Linked DNA regions of Homo sapiens: region 2 is linked to region 1. The links are contacts of gene promoters, found by promoter capture Hi-C in human tissues and cell types (Jung and others, 2019). All regions are on one chromosome and are shown on one strand. The core of a region is centred on a gene start or on the middle of the fragment in contact, and the rest is flanking DNA. Distances in the headings are between cores, read along the strand shown. Region 1 holds the start of WNT7A (Wnt family member 7A). Region 2 overlaps WNT7A (Wnt family member 7A).

Region 1 (4,270 bases), core at 1,081-3,580:
AGTGCTTAGAAGGTGCCAGGCACATAGTGAGTGCCCCATAAATGTGGTGGTGGTGTTGTAATTATCATTATCGTTATCGGATCTGATTGTTGCAATAGGCTAGTGCGGAGTCACCTGAACTATCCGAGCAAAATAAGAATACCGCAGATGCCCCACCATCAGCCAGAAGCGGGTAGAGCCGTCACGTCTGGGGAAATGGAAAAACCTTTTAGGGACGTTGAGACTTCACCCCTCATGTCCACTATACAGATGAGTAGCCCGAGGCGCAGGGAGCAGCAGGGCCTGGCCCGAAGTCACCTGCAACTCCCACCTCTCCGACCTGGACCTCTCCCTACCCCAGAGGGCAGCTTGGGGCGGAAAGCCAGCGCCCTGCAGGACTCCCTCCCTCCCTCCCTGCCGGGCAGCTGGGCCCCCGCAGGGCCAATCCGGGGAGGCCGCGGCGCCGGCGGGAGGGCGGCCCGCGGGCGGGCGGGGCGGCCAGGGGAGGTTATTTTCTGCTGTTTTCCCTTTCTGTCTCCCCCGCCACCCGTGTCCCTCCTCCCCGTTTCTAATTAAAAAGGAGATAAAGCCGCACGCGGCCCGAGTCAATCGGCTCGAGCCAATCGGCCCTACTGGCTTCCTGGATGCTGAATGTGCGCGGGGCGGCGGGGCGCGGGCCAAGATGAAGATTAAAGCAGGGGAAAAAAAGGAAAGCCACCCAGACGCGGGCGAATCAATAACACTTAAAACACACCGGCAGGCTGGCGGTACTGGCGCGAGCCCCGCAGCCGCCTCTCCGCCGCTGGTCGGGCTGGCGGCCCCTGGTCGGCTCTGCACGCACCTGCTAGCGGCCGCGGCCGGACAACTTGCGAAATCCCCGCTCCAGAGACGTGGACTGGGGAAGTGACGGGGTAGGGGGGTAGTAGTGACAAAACACAAAGGGTCTGCCACGCACATCCCCTCGCCGCAGCCCCTGCGGTCCACCCCTCCTCAAAAGGGATGGTAATGGGTTCACTGCTGGGGGCTGGAGGGGCAGGGTGTGTGAGACCTACCAAGCGGGCCCTTCAGCGCCAGAACCTCTATCCATGCCCAGATCCCCCCGCCCCCACACCGCTCCGAGCCTCACACGCGTTGTCTTAAGTACAAAGGGTGACCGGCTTTGCACAAGCAGCTCCAGGACGCGTCCCGAGCTGCCCCCTCCCACCTTCCAGCCAGAGCGCCCCCGAGCCCCACCTCCACAGAAACGCTAGGTGAAGCCGGAGGGCTGCTCGCGCGCCCGGCCGCCTCTGCTGCCCAGTTCCAGGGGGCGGGGTGTCCCGCCTCTCTCTAGCGCTTGTCTCCCTCTGTGTCTCAGACCGCCTCTCGTCCCACCTTTGTGTGTGTTTGTTGGGGGTGGGACGTGCTGTCCCCTTGGCCCGGGAAGGGGCTCTGGGAGTCTAAGGGCCCCTGGAAATTGGGTGGTGCCAAGGCTCCGAGCGGCGGTTTATGTTTTTGCCAGCGAATGTCCTTCCTCCTGGGTACCTGTTCCCTGTTTGCACGGACCGGCCCCGCCAGCCACCTGGGGACTGCCCAGTCTCTAGGAACGGCTGTGCCGCGCCTCCTGAGAGAGTTCGTCTCGGGCTCCGGGGACTGAGCTCCCCGAGATTGGCTGTGGTCCTGGCTTGATGTTCCTGCTAGACCTGCTGTCCCTATGCCCGGGTCCGAAGGGTCCCCGGGATGGGCTGAACCTTTGCAGCAGCTAGCCCTCCCCCAGAGTCCCTCAGGCTGGAGCGTCCCTACCGGCTGTCTCTGGTCCTGGGGGATTCCAGACTCAGACGTCCTCAGGATGGCCAGTCCCCCTGCCTATATCTCCTGGGGTGTCCTGCGGGGGGCCTTTGTGCGTCCACCGCTCCCACACCGCACCCACCCGGCCTCTCAGAGAAGCTGTGGAAGTTGGCCGGCAGAGGCTCGCAGGCGGCACACCTCCCTCCCCGGGCCGTGCCAACTTTGTCGAAACACGCGCGGAAAGGGCGCAGGCAGCCCTTACCCGATCCGGAGGTAGACCATGCCCAGGCTGAGAAAGAGGTGGCCCAGGCAGCGCCGCGCTTTCCGGTTCATAGTCCCGATTGGCCGCCGGGGCCGCGGGCCGGGCTGTGCTGATCCCGCGGGCCGGCCCCGGCGGGGCAATCAACATAGCCCGCCCGGGAGGCGCGAGCCGAGGCGTCCCCGGGGCCGTCTGTCGGTGCGCCCGTCCGCGCGCTCCGCGCCTGAGCCTCGCCAGGAGCACGGGAGCCACGGAGCGGGAGGAGGGAGGGAGGAGCGAGCGCGGCGTGGGGCGACGCCGGGCTGCGCGCGAGCGACCGGTGCAAGTGTGCGAGACGCGGGGAGTGCGGGGGCGCTGCTGCCTCCAGCCCCCGCCCCTCCCTCCTTTCCCCCGTCCCTCCCCCGCCCCCTCCCCCGCCCGCCTCCCCGGAGCGCCCGCCCAGCGCCCCTGCGCCCGCGGGACAGGGCCGCCTGCACAAGGCGCGCGCTCGCGCCTTTCCATGCGCGCTCCCGGGGGCCCCCTCCCTGCTCCGGGGTGCAGGTGGCAGGCTGGGGAGCACAGCCCGGTTGGAGGCGGTAGGAGCCCGCTCGCCCCCCACCCGTCACTAACTTGCAGATTGCAGGGCGAGTGGGCGTCCAGAGGCTGCCCTCGGGTGGAGTGGACCAGACTCGGCCGAGAGGCCTAGTGCCTTGGTCTGCTGCCCTGCTCCCTCCAGCCCGGAACAGGGAGCTGGGGCTGACAGGGCACACCCCAGTTCCCCAACCCCAGCTTCAGGGGAGGGCGCCCCCTTTCGCGGAGCGACGGGCTGACTGGCTCAGTGTATTTCTTCCCTACTCCCACCTATTCGAGAGTGGCGGCAGGGGGTGCCCAGGTTGGGCAGCCTCCTCTGGGATCCTGCTGTTAGCCGACAGACTGAGTCGGGCTGAGGCCCAGTTGCCCCGCGCGGAACAGCAGTGGGGCGCCTGAGCCGCGGGAGCGTGAGGGGCGCAGCTGGCCGCTCAGAGCGCGCTCGCGGCGTCACCAGGCGGACGCGGCGGGTGGTGCACCTCGGCCTCGCTCCCGGGAACAGAATGCTTTGAGTGCCCTGGCCGACCCGAGGGGGCTAACACCCTTCTTTGGTGTACACCTCATCCAGTGAGCTAGGGGGAGTCTAACCGTCCCTGGAAATTGGGTGGTGCCAAGACTCCGAGCGGCAGTTTATGTTTTTGCCAGCGAATGTCCATCCTCCGGGTACCTGTTCCCTGTTTGCACGGACCGGTCCCGCCTGCCACCTGGGGGTTGCCCAGTCTCTAGGAGCGGCTGCGCCTGCGCCTCCGGAGAGTGTTCCTCTCGGGCTCCAGGGACTGAGCTCCCTGGGAGTGGCTGTGGTCCTGGCTTGGTGTTCCTGCTGGACCTGCTGTCCCTATGCCCAGGTCTGGCAAATCTGAACTCAGGTTTCAGCTGAAGACACTGAGGCTCAAGGAGGTGAAGGTGTTTGCCCAGAGTCACCAGCTAGCGAGTGGCACAACCATATGGGAAACAAAGTATGCCCAACTGTAGTAACCTCCTGCACCCAGTCCTGACTATCCTTCAAGATTGCCTTTCTAAATTACACACACACACACACACACACACACCCGAAAGCCACCATTCAGGTATTCATTCATATTCCATATTCTGTGCCAACCACGATAGTGGGCACCGTGGACACAAGGAAGAAGAAAGGCAACAGTCTTTCTTCTTGGGGCCAGGAAGGAGACAGATGATAAGTGAACAAGAACAGAGTTGCAGATAGTAGACCATTAAGCAGGGTGATGGGAGAGGGAATACTGGGTGTTGGAGGGTTAATTTTAGATCTGAGGAGGTGGCATTTGAGGTGAGGCCTGAAGGACACAGCATCAGGGGTCCAGCACTGCAGGAAGGGGACCAGCAGGTGCAAAAGCTCAGAGGTGGGCATGAGCCCCAGGGAGGAGATGGTGGGCTGCAATAGAGAGAGAGAGAAGGCCTGAGCTTGAAGGGAGATGGGGATACACAGATCCACAAAGCTGTGTGGGCACGTCAAGGAGCTTGGATTTCAGTGGTGTGTTCAGCTGGGGACATTGGAGGGATGAAGAAGGGGGTGACTGATCTGATTTGTGTGTTCAAAAGCTCCCCGTGGCTGTCCTAAGGGAACACACTGTGGGAATGGGGACAGGTGAGTAAAGTGCGCCATCAAGCAGACCAGAGAGGAGATGACAGTAGGGGTCCAGGTGAGACATTGGTAGTTTGGGTTAGGGTGGTGCTCTTAGA
Region 2 (4,263 bases), core at 222-2,721, 38 kb before region 1:
ACAGATTCCATATATATATTCTATTATTTGTTTGTTGTCTCCCTTCCCCCGGAATGTCAGCTCCATAAAGGCAAGTACCATGTCTAATCCCAGAGCCTAAAACAGTACCAGACGCATAAATAGGTGCTTAATAAATATTTGTTGAATGAATGAATGAACGAATGCATGGATTTCCATCCTTTCTTTCAGCTGATCTGGTGATCTCACTGGGAAAATGTCCAACTTTCCAGCAGTGAGCTCAGCTTTTTGCTCATCCATTCACCCAACCATCCTTCCAAATAGCTATTCATTCATCCATCCATCCATCCATCCATCCATCCATCCACCCATTCAGCCATCCATCTATCCTACTACCCAAACATCCATCCAACCATCTTCTAAGATCTGTCCGTTTAACCATCCATCCATCTATTCATTCATATTCCATTCATTCAACCAGCCTTCCCATTACTATCTATCTAGCAAATATCCATCCATCCATCTATCCATTTGTGCATGCATGCATGCATCCATCCATCCATCTATATATCCATCCATTCATCCTACCACTCAGCCATGCACTCATCCAAACCAATCCCCAAATGGTTAGAGCTCCTATCCTGGGGTCCCATAGTCCCCTACACACTCCTCTACCAAATCCAGTTCATGTTGTCATATTTACATGCAGTAATTCACTCTTCTCCTTCTGTCATTAGAATGTAATCCCCCTCAAATTCAAAAATGGTATATTATTTATCTCAGACCTCAGTGCCTAAAACAGAGCTGGCATATAGGGATTCGGCTCTCTGGCTTAGAAATGAACACAATCAGGGAATACACCAGGGGCTGGCCTCCTCTAACTTTTTAAAGGCTGGGAAATAATCTCAGGCGTCAGTGAATGGTTGCTGAATGAATATGATTTTCCTTTTCCCTTATTTACTTGTTCAGCGTTTCCCACTAGACTAAGCTTCCTGATGGCAGGAACCAGTTTTTAGTGATCTGTTCGTCTCTAAAACGTCGCACCTAAGGCAAAGAAGACACTCTATAAATTCTTAATGAATGAATAAGTGGATGAATACACAAAAGAGAGGAAGTAGAGCAAGAATGCAGCCTCTGGAGCTGGACTGCCTGAGTTCATATCCTGGCTCTTTGCTTATCAACTGTATGACTTTGGGCGAGTCGCTGAACCGCTCTGTGCCTCAGTTTCCTCATTTGTAAAAGGGAGACAATGCCAGGCTGATCTCATGGAGTTCTTATGAGAATTTTAGGAATTCATGCGTATGAAGTAATTAGAACAGTGCCTGGAGTAAGACAAAAGCTGTACAGGTATAAAATATTCATGTGCTGCTGGCCCACTGGAACAAATATCGAAGGCACAGAGGGGAAAAGGTGGGAGGGAAGCTTCTGTCTGGGCCTGTGCCGTTCCCACAGGAGGCCTTCTACAGCAGGCACTCTAACTTTTCCCAGCCACACTGGGATCACTTGGCAAAGTACCAATATTATATCAGGTGGCCATGAGTGCTACACAGAAAAACAAAACGTGGAAGGGAACAGGAAGCAGCGAGACAGACTGGAGGGTGAGTTCAAATATGGTGGTCAGGAAAGGCCTCCTTGAGAGGTGATATTTGAGAAAAGACTTGAGGAGGTGAGAGGGTAAGTGTCTGCAGGGAGAGCATTCCAGGCAGAGGGAACAGTAAGTGCAAGGGACCTGGGGCAGGGACATACCCAGTGTGTGTGAGGAGCCACAGGGAGACCGCTGCAGGGGGACAGAGAGAGCGAAGGGGAAGGAGACAGGGGTGAGGGAGGGGCCTGTGAGCCACCGTGAAGGCTTCTGTGTCTACTCTGGGTGAGATGGGAGCCATGGTGAGATTATAAGTGAGGGAGGCAGAGTTTAACTGACATTTGAAAAGCCTGCAGGGGCCCAAGTTAGTAGGCTGGTGTGTTCCTACAGGGAAGAGACGCTGATGGATAAGACCCTGGGGTAAGGGGACTGTCGTGCCACTGCAGGGGAGAGATGCTGGTGGATAGGACTCTGGGGTAAGGGAATTGTTTTGCTACTGCAGGGAAGAGATACTGGTGGGTAGAAACCTGGGGTAAGGGGACCGTTGTGCCACTGCAAGGAAGAGATGCTGGTGGATAGGACCCTGGGGCAAGGGGACAATTGTGCAATGTCAGGGAAGAGATGCTGGTGAATAGGACTCTGGGGCAGGGGACTGTTGTGTCACTGTAGGGAAGAGAGGCTGGTGGCTTGGATCATGAGCTCGGGGGTATAAGTTATTTGGTGACAGACTCTGGACAGATGTTGTAGGTAGAACTGACATGTTGGATGTGGGGTGTGAAAGAAAGAAAAGTGTCATGGCCAAGGCCAGGGCCAGGGTTTGGCTTACACAACTGGAAGGATGCAGATGCTATTTACTGAACCAGGGGATGGAGACAAAGGCACCAGCAAGTTTGTGGGAGAAAGATCAGGAGTTAGGTTGTGGTAGACGAGTGCTCATGGGCCAGTAGACATCCTGGAGCAGGGAGGCAGGATGGCAGCTGGATGCACAGGACTTGTGTTCGGGAGGCAGGTCTGGGCTGGAGACTGGACTTTATGGACAACTTTAAAGGTCCTGGAATGTGGTGTGTACTTGGGTATGTGTGGCATGGGGCTGAAAGGACAAGGGCAGAGGCCCCCTCTGGAAGTGGCTGCTCACAAGGACTGAAAGACCTAGGTGGACATCACCTATTTTGGATAAAGGAGGACCAGCGTGGCCTTGCCATGGCTTGGTGTCCTGTGGCCCTCCCTGCTCAGTGCAGCAAAAAATCTCAATGGCGACCTGGACCGCTCCTTCTCTTGAGTCTGCTAGCACACTCTACAGCCAGCGAATGGACAAAACAGAGTTTTAGAGCTAGAACAGTCCTTAGGAATAAGATGTAAGAATTAAAACTTGACTGTGGCTTTAAAATCACTACTACTACTGATACTAACAATGATATTCATAACAGCAATGACTGCTTTCCAAGCACTCATCATGCCTGAGAGCGTAGGACGAGGCACTCCAGGGGCATTATCTCATGCAATCTGCACAACAGCTCTGACAAGTACAAATCCTCACTGCCTTTTTTTCAATGAGGAAACTGAGGCTTGAGAAGGGTGACTGCCCAAGGGCACACAGCAAACAAGTGGCACAGTCGGGGCTCTGATCGGAGCTCTTTCCACATCCAGGTCATTCACACCTCCCCGCATGGTCTGGCCAGGAGCTCCTGACCTGCCTCCCATCCAAAACTCTCAGCCCAGCAGAGAACACCTCCGGGGGACTGAGCAGTACCCAACCAGAGCCTCAGCTGCCTCACCTGCAAAACGGGCACAATTACACTGCTCACCTGGAGGAAAGCTGTGAGACTTGGCCAGGAAAAGATGTTGAAAAAAAAAAAGGTCATGCAAATCATAAAGTGTTTTACCAATGTCATGTTGGAATCTTTTTTTTTTTTTCCCCTGAGATGGAGTCTCACTCTGTCTCCCAGGCTGGAGTGCAGTGGTGCAATCTCAGCTCACTGCAACCTCTGCCTCCTGGGTTCAATTGATTCTTCTGCCTCAGCCTCCCAAGTAGATGGGATTACAGGTGCCCGCCACCTTGTCCAGCTAACTTTTATATTTTTAGTAGAGATGGGTTTCTCCATGTTGGCCAGGCTGGTCTCAAACTCCTGAACTCAGGTGATCCACCCACCCTTGGCCTCCCAAAGTGCTGGGATTATAGGCGGGAGCCACCGTGCCTGGCCTTGTTGGAATCTTTATTATTTCAAAATGCTACCAATCCATCTAGGTCCAAAAATACACACACACACAATTGAGAGCTAAGAAGAGGCTGCACCAAGGATGAACAGAGCTTGGGTTGCAGAGTTGGGATGGCTGGAGGGAACCCTGGCTCAGATGCTTTTTACCTGGTCAACCTCAAGCACACCACTGAACTGCTCTGTGCCTTCAGTTTTCTTCATCTGTCAAGCAGGAATGACAATAGGCCCTTCCCTGTGAGATCATTTACAAAGAGCACTTGGGATGGGACCAGCACATGGAAGGGCAGGCCTTGAGAGGGGCACACAGTGCCTTGCAGTGAGCAGCTGAGTGCTGGCCTCACTGCCCATGCCCAGCTGGCTGGGAATCTGTCCCTTCCCCACCATGGCCTGGGGAGGCCCTGAGACCCTGAGTCCAGCTCTCCTGTCCAGGAGCCTGGGATGCTGCTCACGTTCACTGCCCAGACCTCAGCTGCCCATCTGAGAAATGGAGTTACCAAGGGTCCCCAA

The links. The method cuts DNA at HindIII sites, captures the fragments that hold promoters and counts their contacts. A contact is called where the count stands out against the background at its distance.
Region 2: a contact is called between a fragment that was not itself captured here and the fragment with the promoter of WNT7A in region 1, in 2 of the 25 tissues and cell types used here (H1 embryonic stem cells and pancreas).

The regions. Positions count from the first base shown.
Region 1 is chr3:13,877,741-13,882,010 of GRCh38, forward strand. WNT7A (Wnt family member 7A) reads right to left here and starts at 2,331. Exons shown (of 4, transcript NM_004625.4): 1 at 2,006-2,331. The coding sequence starts at 2,076. RefSeq lists enhancers at 804-1,305, 1,808-2,309. The HindIII fragment of the contact is 9,172 bases long and covers 1-4,270 here.
Region 2 is chr3:13,840,306-13,844,568 of GRCh38, forward strand. The region is part of intron 3 of WNT7A (Wnt family member 7A); the gene reads right to left. Among named protein-coding and RNA genes, the nearest start is that of WNT7A, 38 kb to the right of the region's middle. The HindIII fragment of the contact is 5,404 bases long and covers 1-4,173 here.